Linked DNA regions of Homo sapiens: regions 1 and 3 are each linked to region 2. The links are contacts of gene promoters, found by promoter capture Hi-C in human tissues and cell types (Jung and others, 2019). All regions are on one chromosome and are shown on one strand. Each heading gives the region's core, a stretch centred on a gene start or on the middle of the fragment in contact. The rest is flanking DNA. Distances are from core to core; before and after follow the strand shown. Region 1 overlaps PTN (pleiotrophin). Region 2 holds the start of PTN (pleiotrophin). Region 3 overlaps DGKI (diacylglycerol kinase iota).

What was found. The method cuts DNA at HindIII sites, captures the fragments that hold promoters and counts their contacts. A contact is called where the count stands out against the background at its distance.
Region 1: a fragment that was not itself captured here is called in contact with the fragment with the promoter of PTN in region 2 in 4 of the 25 tissues and cell types used here (bladder, dorsolateral prefrontal cortex, heart right ventricle and 1 more).
Region 3: a contact is called between a fragment that was not itself captured here and the fragment with the promoter of PTN in region 2, in 2 of the 25 tissues and cell types used here (hippocampus and stomach).

Annotation. Positions count from the first base shown.
Region 1 is chr7:137,247,384-137,251,407 of GRCh38, forward strand. It overlaps PTN (pleiotrophin), which reads right to left. Exons shown (of 5, transcript NM_002825.7): 4 at 3,847-4,008. Among named protein-coding and RNA genes, the nearest start is that of PTN, 94 kb to the right of the region's middle. The HindIII fragment of the contact is 7,666 bases long and covers 1-4,024 here.
Region 2 is chr7:137,341,924-137,345,692 of GRCh38, forward strand. It overlaps PTN (pleiotrophin), which reads right to left and starts at 1,810. Exons shown (of 5, transcript NM_002825.7): 1 at 1,516-1,810. RefSeq lists promoters at 1,604-3,768, 1,604-2,349 and a cis regulatory region at 2,353-2,362. The HindIII fragment of the contact is 6,839 bases long and covers 1-3,769 here.
Region 3 is chr7:137,418,547-137,422,616 of GRCh38, forward strand. The region is part of intron 28 of DGKI (diacylglycerol kinase iota); the gene reads right to left. Among named protein-coding and RNA genes, the nearest start is that of PTN, 77 kb to the left of the region's middle. The HindIII fragment of the contact is 3,451 bases long and covers 913-4,070 here.

The DNA of each region.
Region 1 (4,024 bases), core at 590-3,089, 95 kb before region 2:
AGATCATTAGGTTAAGTAAAATAAGACAGGCACAGAAAGAGAAACATTGCGTGTACTCACTTATTTGTGGGATCTAAAATCGAAACAAACTCAAGGACATAGAGAGTAGAAGGATGGTTAACAGAGGTTGGGAAGGGTAGTGATGGGTGGTTGGGATGGTTAATGGGTACAAAAAAATAGAAAGAATGAATAAGACCTACTATTTGATAGCACAACAGGGTGACTATATAGTCAATAATAAGTGTATATTTTAAAATAACGCAAAGAGTGTGATTAGGTTGTTTGTTACTCCAAGGATAAATGCTTGAGGGGATGGACACTGCATTCTCCATAATATGCTTATTTCATATTGCAGGCCTGTATCAAAACATCTCATGTACCACATAAATATATACACCTACCACATATCCACAAAAATTAAAAAGAAAAAAGACAACATTCACCTTCTCCTATTTCAAAGGAAATTAAAACCCATGGAGGTTAGTTCATACCCCTTTGTGATTTAGGTGAGAAATCAGCAGAATACAAAAGATGACATGAATTTAGAGTTAGACAAATCTTGGCACTGTCATTTATTAGAGATATACTCCTGGTCAAGTAAATTAACCAGTGTTCCTCAGTTTCCTTTATAATAATACCCACCCGCAAGGATATATGGGACTTTATAAGTTACCATATGGAAAACACCTAGAGCAATGTATAGAGTAGAAACTGAATAATGATAATGATAGTATAGATTCCATTCATTACTATTTGCTTTCCCATTGATTAGTAGAATGTAAGCTATCTTAAAATTAGAGACGTGCAAAGGAAAAGCTATAATATCTATCCAAGTTTATTTGAGAAAAATAGTACAAAAATAAATACAACTTACATATGCCACTCGTTACATTTTGGTTTAAACTAGGAAAAATATGCCATGGAATGTGTGTGTGTGTGTGAGTGTGTCTGTGTCCCCTACAAAGATTTTATATCTGACACATCTCCCTGGTTCAACTCCTAAAATAAGAATATTCTTTTTTCCAGGCACAGTGGCTCATGCCTTTAATCCCAGCACTTTGGGAGGCCAAGGCGGGTGTATCATTTGAGGTCTGGAGTTCAAGACCAGCCTGACCAACATGATGAAATGCTGTCTCTACTAAAAAGACAGAAAAATTAGCTGGGCGCATGCCCATAATCCCAGCTACTCAGGAGGCTGAGGCAGGAGAATCACTTGAACCCAGGAGGCGGAGTTTGCAGTGGGCCGAGATCGCCTCACTGCCCTCCAGCACGGGTGACAGAGTGAGACTCTGTATCAAAAAGAAAAAAGAAATCATTCTTTTTGCAGAGTGTCTCAGTGCCAAACAGCATTTATAAGACTCTCCACTGCTGAGATGGAAAAGATTGGTTAGTTATAACAAAGGTATATTATACACAAAGGGAAGGATGAATTTTAATGACCTGTAAATTGCATAACTGGTAGTTTGAAACATAGAATCACTCATAGTAATCATATTTTCAATTAATTATATCAATTAATTATATACCATAATTTATTTACGTATGAATATTACAGAATGTCTATCCACTTGAAATATTTTTAGTGTCATTTTTTCAAGCTGAAAGCCTGAAACAAACTTAACCTTCATTACATGTTATTAGATGAGATACTGTATAAAGGTGAAATATACACCAGTTCAGGTAAAAGGAAGACTTCACTTATTTCCTAAATATCGTTTAGGGTTCTATCTTAATCATGTTCCCTGCTGTGTCCCATTTATTCCAAACTTTTCAACATTTTATGTGTTCACCCAGCCCCACCATCTTCCACCTAATCATGTCCCCACTTTTTCTCCCTTATTATAAAGTTGAATTTTCTCTTTCCCATAGGAAAGAACAGGACAGTGCACGTGTGTGTGTGTGTGTGTGTGTGTGTGTGTGTGTTACATGTGTATGCATGTGTGTGTGGTCTCTTGTCAATGGATTCCATACTAGAGCAGTAGTTCTCAATTTTGGCTGCATCATGAAACCTTCTGAGATGCATTCACAATTTTTAAACTACTGATGCTGATTGGGTTAGTCTGTGCTATACTTGGGCACTGGGAGTTTTGCAAGTTCCCACAGAATATTCTAATGTGAAGCCCAGGTTGAGCATCACTGTGCTAGAATGTGGAAGCTTCTTTAATTTCTTTTCCTTTCAATTCTGTATTTATGCTGAATATTTTGGTTCTACAGCTGGACTAAAAATAAATTATTTTGACTACAGTAACTCTGAGTTTTGCCATTTTTGGAAATGTTTCACTTGGTAGATAGGGCACTGATTTTGCTTAGATTTATGTGGTTGTCTCTGGACAAATGACATTTGGGAAGTCTGCATAAGTACTCACTGCAGTCACTCCAGCCCTGCTTCATGCCTTCCAAAAACCATATGACAACAGGCAGAGATTTCCATGATCTGGAAAGGGCAGCCTGAACCCTAGACTCACCACCTGCAGGTCCAGCCTGTACCTGGCCATCCTGAAGTTGGAGATAACTATTTCTATGGACAACTCCAGCAGTGGCCAAAAAGCCAGGCCTGTGAAAAATAAAGTCCTTTCTGGCCACCAGCAGGAAACCAGCCAATCTCCATCACCTTCTGCAGATTTTTTTTTTCTACTTTTATTTATTATGAGCATTTCTTACATGGTCATTTTTCTGAATCTCTCCTTACAATTTCTCTGGCAGTATGAATTTTCAGGACCACCTTAGAGTTAAAATATATGAGTAGAGGCCAAGAAGGTATTTGAATTTAGAGTTCATTGAGTCCCATTGTATTAGTTGGCTATAGCTCCTATAACAAAGTACCACAGAGTTGGTGGCTTAAACAACAGAAATTTATTTATTTATTGTCTTGCAGTTCTGGAAGCTACAAGCCTAAGATCAAGGCATCTGTAGGGCTGATTTCTTCTGAAGGTTCTCCCTATGGCTTGTAGATGGCATTCTTCTCCCTCTGTCTTCACACAGTCTTCTCTCTATGTATTTCTGTGTCCTAATCTCCCTTCTTATAAACACACCAGCTGCACTGGATTAGGGCCTACCCTTGTGACTGCATTTTATCTCAATTACCTCTTTAAAGACCCTGTCTCCAATACAGTGACATTGTGAGGGGGTTAAAACTTCAGCATATGAATTTGGGAAAACACAATTCAGACAATAACATCCATGATGAAAGAGTTTATTTCCCTCAGTTGGGATCCTTGTATGTATGAATTCATGGCCATAATGATTGTTTTTACCTTCTCCAGCAAGAGAGCAGAGCCTGACTTTCTGGGAGATACAGATCTCTGTCATTTAAAAATTCTGTGATGAATGTAGTTGGTAACCAAATTGAACTCAAAAAATATAAAGGCTCTGAAAACAAATGCAGAACCCATTAAGTTATGCAGTGAATAAAGGGAAAATGTAAAATAATTTTCCTGATTTTGTGAAAACTATATTTCAGATAATCTGGGAGAAGTTTGATTTAAAATTGTCTCCGTCATAAACATTCTGAGTTTGTTTTTCTTGTCAGGATACAGTTCCAATTAAGAGTGTGGAATATATGGTCATCATACAACTGTCTTTGCTGGTTTCTTTTGCTATGTTATTTATTTGGGTTAGGAGACTGTACCAATCCCCTCATCTATGCAGAGGACTTCAATTTGCACTCACAGGCTGCCTGCTTCAAAGTATTTTTAAAGTATTTTTGTGACTCTCAGTGTAGGGGAGTTTTTCAGTCACTTTCTTAAGGTAATTCACCTAATATTTCCTTCTGGAAAATGTGGGTTTTCCAGATCTTACCTGAGTCCATCAATCCATTAAAATTGTGGTATAATGGCAAGGACTTACCTTGAGGTTTGGGCTTGGTCAGTTTGCCACAGGGCTTGGAGATGGTGACAGTCTTCTGGCATTCGGCATTGTGCAGGGCTCGCTTCAGACTTCCAGTTCTGGTCTTCAGGGCTGTGTTCAGGTCACATTCTCCCCAGGCCTGGAACTGGTATTTGCACTCCGCTAAAGGCAGGGTAGA
Region 2 (3,769 bases), core at 560-3,059:
TGAAATAACTCATGTCCCAAAGGAAGAAAAAAATATTCATTCTAATTTCCTCTGAATTTAACTGGACTATATTTTTTAAACGACTTGGCCTTTAAAGTGCATAATTTACTTAAAAGGAAACATAATGAAGATGGAAAATACAGCTTTATTTTCTGTGTTGGGAGACTTCTCTTTTGTTTCATTGTCATTAACTTTCAATATTTCTACATATCAATGCATTCCCGGATAATTAAGGGGCTAAAATGGGCCCTGCTGTTTCATCAATTCCACATTTGCCTAGGATCATAAAATGTTTCATTATGTTATTAGTCCAGAGCTCTTTTTGGTGATTTCTAAATCTCCTCCCAGACCCCTCTCTCTAGCACACACACACGCACATGCACACGCACACACACACATCACCCCTTTCTCAAGCTGCTAAAGCAAAATGCCTGATAACTCTTAAAATGAGAGATGCTCAAGGACCGCAGCTTTAATATTTTCTCCTCTTAGCACCCCTACCCCTCCTATTTTCTGAATGTGTCCCCAAACTTACAAAGCAGCTCTTAACAGACACAAGGGTGAGTTAACACTAGAGTGTATATAAACTGCATGTGTGTGTTCCTGTGTGTGTGTGTGTGTGTGTTGTGTCACATTATGTCATGGAGAAAGGGGTGTGTGTGTATGGAGAGGAGAGAGGAGGTTTCACTTTCCATCTATTAAGAAAGGAGTTGAATACATTCCTCTCAAAAAATGTTTTCTTAACTTATTAGAAACAACAACTCAGAAACTCTAAATATCTAGTAAATTAGTAACAAATATATCCTAAATTTATGTGGGTCAAATTAAAAGTTTAAGGGTCTATGTACTGGGCAGTTCTTTAAATTTGCATTCAAATGAGAGATGGGACTCCAGGTGTGTCTTCTAAACTTTGGACCTAACCATTTCTGGAACCATTCCTGGGCTGTCAGGTGGGAAGACGGGTGCCAGTAGTTCCGTGAGAGACGTTTCATGTCAGCTAGCACTGGGAGGAACAAGCCCCCACAGCTTACCTAGAAATGCCAGCTAAGAGTCATGGGCTGACAGGCTCTGGGGCAATCAGAGAATCAGAGAGAGGCTGGGAAAATGAGAGCTGCTTGTTCAGGCTGCCTTACTTTCTTTGCACCTACCCAGCCAGAGACACACCTACTAAAGCTCCAGGTTTTACAAAAAGCAAAGATGCACTCTCCAGCCCACCCTGTCTTGCTCTCCAGCTGGTAGCTGGAACACGGTCCAAATACATGCTTAACATCACAAAAACTTCTTTCCTTTCACTTACCTAAGCACACCCGAACTAACCTAACCTGAAACCCCAAAAATATGCCTCCCTTGGCCTCTGGAGCAAGTCAGTTTTGAAAGCAGTCCTATCAGCAAAGACACCAGGCAGCCTCTCTCACCCCTACCACCATCATCTGCTGGCACCCAGAAAAGTGGCACAGGGTGAAGGCAAACTCGATCGAAGAGCCCTCCGAGAAATCGTACGTTCCTCTCACTTACTTTGAGTTGGAAACGTCCTCTCTGGCGCTCAGTCTGCCTTTGTTGCAAGGGGCGAGGTTGCTACCGCTGAGTCCAGGTACCCGGCTCGCTGCAGCTCCTGCTTGGGCCGCTGCTGCTCTCCCCGCCTTCTGGACGGATGACTCACTGGTCTCTTTCTTCCCCTCTCTCCACTTTGGATTTTCCTCTGCTCTGGGGCTCTCTTGGCGGGATTTTTGGACTGGAAGGCGGGGAACCTGATCCTGCCTTTGACTCAATTACGCCCTGACAGGGAGGGAACGGAAGGGAAATGGAGAATGGGAGGGATGAGAGGAGCGGGCCAGGAGGACGAAGGCTGGGCGAGGGAGGGAGAGCGCTTTGCACTCGAGAGCTGATTGGGAAGCTTATTAAAAGCAGAATACTCCAGGGGCAGTCTCTCCCTGCGGAGCAAGAAAACGGATTTGAACCAAGAGGCCATGAGATGGTACCTTGTTTTGTTTTTAGCAGAGACGAAACACAACATTTCTTTTCCAAACTCCACCCATGATCTATTCTTCAGATGAGTGCAAAGCCACTTTGCCAAATAGGATATTTTAAATGGACAATTGATGGCATTTTAGGTTACATTTTTGGCCCCCCACAATCCTTTAATGATATTCAGAATGGAAAAGCACTCTCTTCAAACCAGCCTCTTCTTCCACCCACGAAAGCCCTCTCTAAACACAGAGACAGTAAGGTGTCAGTCACATCTCACCTGCAAAGCACAAAATGTACAAAGTACTTTTTCTCAATTGTCACAAAGAGTGACAGACGTCTCAAAGTTCCCAATTAAGTGCTACTTACCTTTAGGGAGAGCTCTTTCCTTTTTTGGTTTCCTTGGTGCCTTTAGCAACCTATTTAGTAACATGCCTTTGACACCCAAGAATTTAGAGGATTCGTCAAAGTAGCTCAAACTCTGAGGTTTGTAAAACTTGGAGGCTGGGCTTTGCGTCTCTGGAATTGTCATTTCATTCAATACAGGAAAGACGCTAAGGCAATGCATAGGTAAATATTTATGATAAAGATGAGATAAAAGTATTGTGTAAAAGGATTAAGATGTATTATACAAATTCACCCAAACATTTTCGAAATGTAAATTTCGAGATTTTCTGCCACTTATCAGCTTTTCCTGCTCCGTGGCTAGCTCCTTTTACCTACTTTTACCTTTACTGGTCAGCTTATCATTTGATGGCGTCCTTCCCAAATTGGTTGTAAAATAGACCACATTTTTCATAATTCTGAGGTTACATCCCTTCATTTCAATTTGACAAATATTTATTAAGCAATTTGTTTACTTAGAACTATCCTTAAATCCCCAAATTAGAAGCATTGTCTTGTGGCAAGTAGTTTTTAGGGACTTGGGGCTCTTCTATTGACAGCTACCTGTAGAAATGTCCCTTGGAGAAGTTGACTGGAGCCAGACGTGGCTCTACAAACTCAATCAAGCAGTCAATCAAGCTTTTCAAAAGGAAAGGCATCAGAGATGCACTTACACACCTACAATTTATCCCCCTTCCCAAACTCTTCATATACATACCACATACAATTCTCAAATGAAATAACTAAATAAGGAAGCTGTGTTCCTTTCTCCTACACACAGGCTTCAGGTTACCTGTTTTCCTTTTGTGATTCCACTTCTGTGTGAAGCAAGCAGTGCTTGTTTTAATCAGATTTCACCTGTATAAAGTGTGGAGAAACGCACATTAGCATTTTTTTTTGGCATTTTTCCCAGTCCCTTTACCAAAAAAGATATCTCAGCATTCTATTAACACTCCATAGGGGCAAAGTTTCTAAGGCATTGAACAAAGAGCTATCCATTTTCTTTCTGTTCTTCAGCTTTATGTTAACATATACAAATGTAACATACAGCTAGCTACCAGTTAGGTGAACAATGCTGGCTTGATTGAGGTGTTCTCTATAGGGCTGATAAAGTAAGCATGAGATTCCCATGATTTCTACTCAATTACATATGTTACACCAAAAATATCACCCTTTATTCAGATGGGTATATACTAAAATTGTATACATCAGTGATTATCAATTGGGAGCAGTTTTGCCCTCCAGGAAAAGGGAATAATGTCTGGAGGTAGTCTTGGTTGTCGCAACTTGGTGGAAGGGGTTGCTCTGGATCTAGTGGGTAGAAGCCGGGGATGCTGTAAAACATCATACAATGCATAGGACAGCCTTTGTTACCAGAAAGCGGTCCCGGTCCAGACCCCAAGAGAGGGTTCTTGGATCT
Region 3 (4,070 bases), core at 1,388-3,887, 77 kb after region 2:
TAAAGCAACTGAAATAACTACATTGTTACATGCAAAATAGAATCACAACTCTGAACACTTATGTCTATTTTTTAAAAGTTTGATCTTTCATATTCAGTTATTTTTTTAGTTTTAAAAATAATATCCTATTACCACATTGTTGTCTGCCCATAGTAGCAGTCAGCTAACTCTTTTTTTCCAAAATTATAGAAGAAAAAAATAAAAGTAAATATAAAAACTGCTAAACAAAGAATGGCTTGAAAAGACGTAGGGAAAAACATCAGTTGATTCACTGGGAATCATAAATGCATCTAGCTTTGCCAAGTTCTGTGAACTTTTACTCCTAAATATTTTCATGTGCAAAGCAAGAGTCACAACCCTAAACTATTTCTTGAGGAGTAATAATACTCTACTTTCTAGCGTGTATTTGGTCTTAGTCTAACCTTTCATTTCATAGATGAGGAAAGTAGGGCTTGAGATCTGAACTGACCTTTGCAGGATCACACAGATTACTTAGCAATCCAGCTGAGAGACAAAGGACTCTTGTTTCATTTACTTGCCTCCCCCCTTCCCCAGGTCTGAGTTTCTTCCACTATATGATGCTGTTTCTCCTCTGTTTAACTTGGAGCAGGACAGCCAAAAATGAAAATAACCCCCGGAAAAAGTTTCATGAATGCATGACATACAAAATGAAGTTAAAGTAAATTTACAGTTTTAAGGCCCAACTTTTTGTGTGTGCCAACAGAGACAAAATCCATCGCAAATGTGACACAAATAATTCTCTTGATCTTATCATGACTGAAGTCTTCATAGTTTGCCTTTATTCAATCCGTTACTTCTTGCGTGGCTACCAGATAACTTATACCATAGCTGCCCCATAGCTCACTCTCTGAGATACATATTTCTGCATAGCCTTTGCTGTATTTACCTTATCAGAAACATTCTGTCCAATTTTTCTATTTTGTGAGCAGCCAGCCATGGTACATGAGCAACAAACTGTGAAGGCTTAGCTCGCAAAAAAATGAAATTTAGTATAATCATCAAACACAGCAAAGGTAATCTAACACGAATTCACAGGTATGGATGACCGCTGTGAATTATGCTAATGAGGCATAAATGGGAAGCAGCTCAAGAAAAATGACTGTAATTAATATTATTCTACATAGGCATACTGAATAAGTCCAAGATGAGGTGAGAAAAAGAATGAATTATATAAATTTCTAAAGACCTCTGCATTTTTATCTAGGCCTAGAGGACTTTTTCACAATCAGTAAAAAGACATGTGACAAATTATTTGTTATAATAAAAGTTAAACTACTGAAGGTTTTTAACATATTAGAACAGATTTAAGATTATTCTTCTAATGACATGCAACTCTGTATCAACTATCTATTATTGCATGGTAAAGTATATGACTTAAAACCCAATTATTTCTTTTGCTCAAAAATCTGCATTTGGGGCAGCGTTCTGCAGAGATAGTTTGTCTTTGTTATACCTGGCAGCAGTTGGAGCTGCTCCACTAAGAGCTGAAAGATCCAGTTCAAATATGATCAGACACATGGCTAGTAACTGGGTACTGGTATCGGCTAGGAGCCTTGGATCCTCTCATGTGGGATTCCTGGGCTTCCCGTGTGCTTCTTGGGCTTTCTTATAAGATGGTGGCTGGGTTCCAAAAGCAACCATCCCAAGAGAGCCCAGTGATCAACTCACCTCGCCTTGGAAATCCCAAGGTATCATTCCTGCTGAAGTCCACGTTTGCGCATATACAAGGAGAGAGAGCGTAGATCCCACATTTCAATGGAAAGAGCATCAAAGTCACATTGCAAGATGAGTGTGTAGGTGGGAGAAAATGCCATGGCTATTTTTGAAAAGTACAAACTGTCACATCATATACTTGAATTGTGATGTGCTTTGAGTCGGAGGGCTGGTGTTGACTTGTCAGTGTTGGGAAAGGGGTATAATCAACAGTCTTTTTACCTATGTCACTTATGGGAATGTGTTATGCATACAATGTCATCTGGTTTATGTCATGAGTATCTTGGCCTAAAAATTAAAAAGGATGAAAACTGCTTTTCTGGAGGAACAGATTTTTGGAGAAGAAAAAAAAAAAGAAAAGCAGGGGGAAGACCAGGCAATGGGTGCTTGTTAGATTGAATTAAAAATTCTGTCTTAGGTGTGTCTGTCCTTAATCTCTCATTAATAATCAGATGTGACCGAGCACTGTGGCCCACGCCTGTAATCCCAGCACTTTGGGAGGCCGAGGCAGGTGAATCACCTGAGGTCAGGAGTTTGAGATCAGCCTGGCCAACGTGGTACAAACTTGTCTCTGCTAAAAATACAAAAATTAGCTGGGCATGACGGTGGAAGCCTGTAGTCCCAGCTACTTGGGAGGCTAAGACAAGAGAATTGCTTGAACCCAGGAGGCGGAGGTTGCAGTGAGCCGAGATCACGCCACTGCACTCCAGCCTGAGTGACAGAGTGAGATTCCGTCTCAATAAAAAAGAAAAAGAAAAAGAAAAAAAAATCAGATGTAAGAGAAGAGACTCTCCCAATCTCCTCCCCTTTTTCCTCCTTCAAACACTCACTGAATTCTAGGTTTATACCCCTCACACTCCACCTACCAGCTTCTCCTCCACTGCTGAAACATGGTGCAGAGCACACATCTCACATGGCTACCTTCTCATCATCCCTGGGATTAATCCATCAGTGGCATCAAAAGGCCATTAGATACTACGGTGGCTTTATATTCAAACACCACCTGTGCCAAATCCATCTTAGATTGTGTAACCATAGATGGGAGACAAAAATAGGTTTTGTTTCTCTCTAATGACAGAATTAATCCCCCAATTCAATTAATTCCTGCTAATTAAATGCATGAATATATATTGGTTCTTTCCATCTGCTGTGGCAATCCTTTTGAAGCTCCTATTAGCATGGAAGAGATTTCTGTTTGGAGAAAAAACAAACAGCCTCCGTCTAGTGTTCCCTCCTGGCAGAAAACCTCTACCTTGCTGCCAGAGGATCAGGATGCACTCCCTTCAAAAGCAGTTCGTTCCACTTCTTTTATTCACCACTGGAATTGGCTATAAACAGCACAGGGACCAGATGTCTCTCCAAAGCATCCCATTTGCTTATCTGTTGTTGTGAAATTGTTTAATTGTTTCACATGTCTAAGTTCCACTTCTGCGATTAAGTCATAAGCATGAGGACACTTTTTTCTCTTTGTTTTATCCACACTATATCTTTCACTGAAATCTCTATGGGACAGAAAATACATGAAGTGCTTAATAAATAGTTGGTTGATCCTTTCGACCTGGTGATTCAGCCGGCTATCATTTCAATACACTTTAAAATCTGGATTGAGGAAGACATTCTAGGGAGTGGAAGAAAGCTCACCTTACTGGCCCCTGCTACACCTTGCAATCAATTTTGGAGACACAGATATCTTCAAATCTCTTTGTAAATCTCATGGTGTTTGTTAGTTGCATCTAGTAAACACAGCAAAACACCACTGCAACTATCTCATGAGATCAGAAATGTTTATGAGTCAACTCAGAGCTGTATATCAGCAATGATACTTGTTACTTCCTAGAACATTGATAGTAACGCTTAGATAAGTGTTAAAGCAAACTTCGTGGGTGAATTAATTTGCTTTGAGCACTGGGTTAGTGAAAACAAGCTCATGGGTTACAGGGCCAATAGACTCACACTCTTCCAGAATCACAGCATGTCACTTTCAACCTGCTGTGTAACATACATGACGCCAGTCACAAAGGACCAGCAAAGGGTCTTAAAATACCTTCTGGAAAATCTCTATAACTCAATATCAATTCTTTCTCTAGCAATAAATTAATATCATCACCTTTGGATGTAATGGGAAAACATATTTTTATATAGTACCACCATCTAAAGTAATATACAGCTATTCCCTTAAAACTAGAAAAATATAAATTCATTTCTAACATCAATATTATAGAATCCTATTTACGGTTTTGTTAGACAAACATTAAGCTTTCAAAAAAAACCAGGGAGGAGTTTTCATATTTGTAAAGCATTTTCTTTTTCTTTTCTTTTTTTTTTTTTTTTTTTTT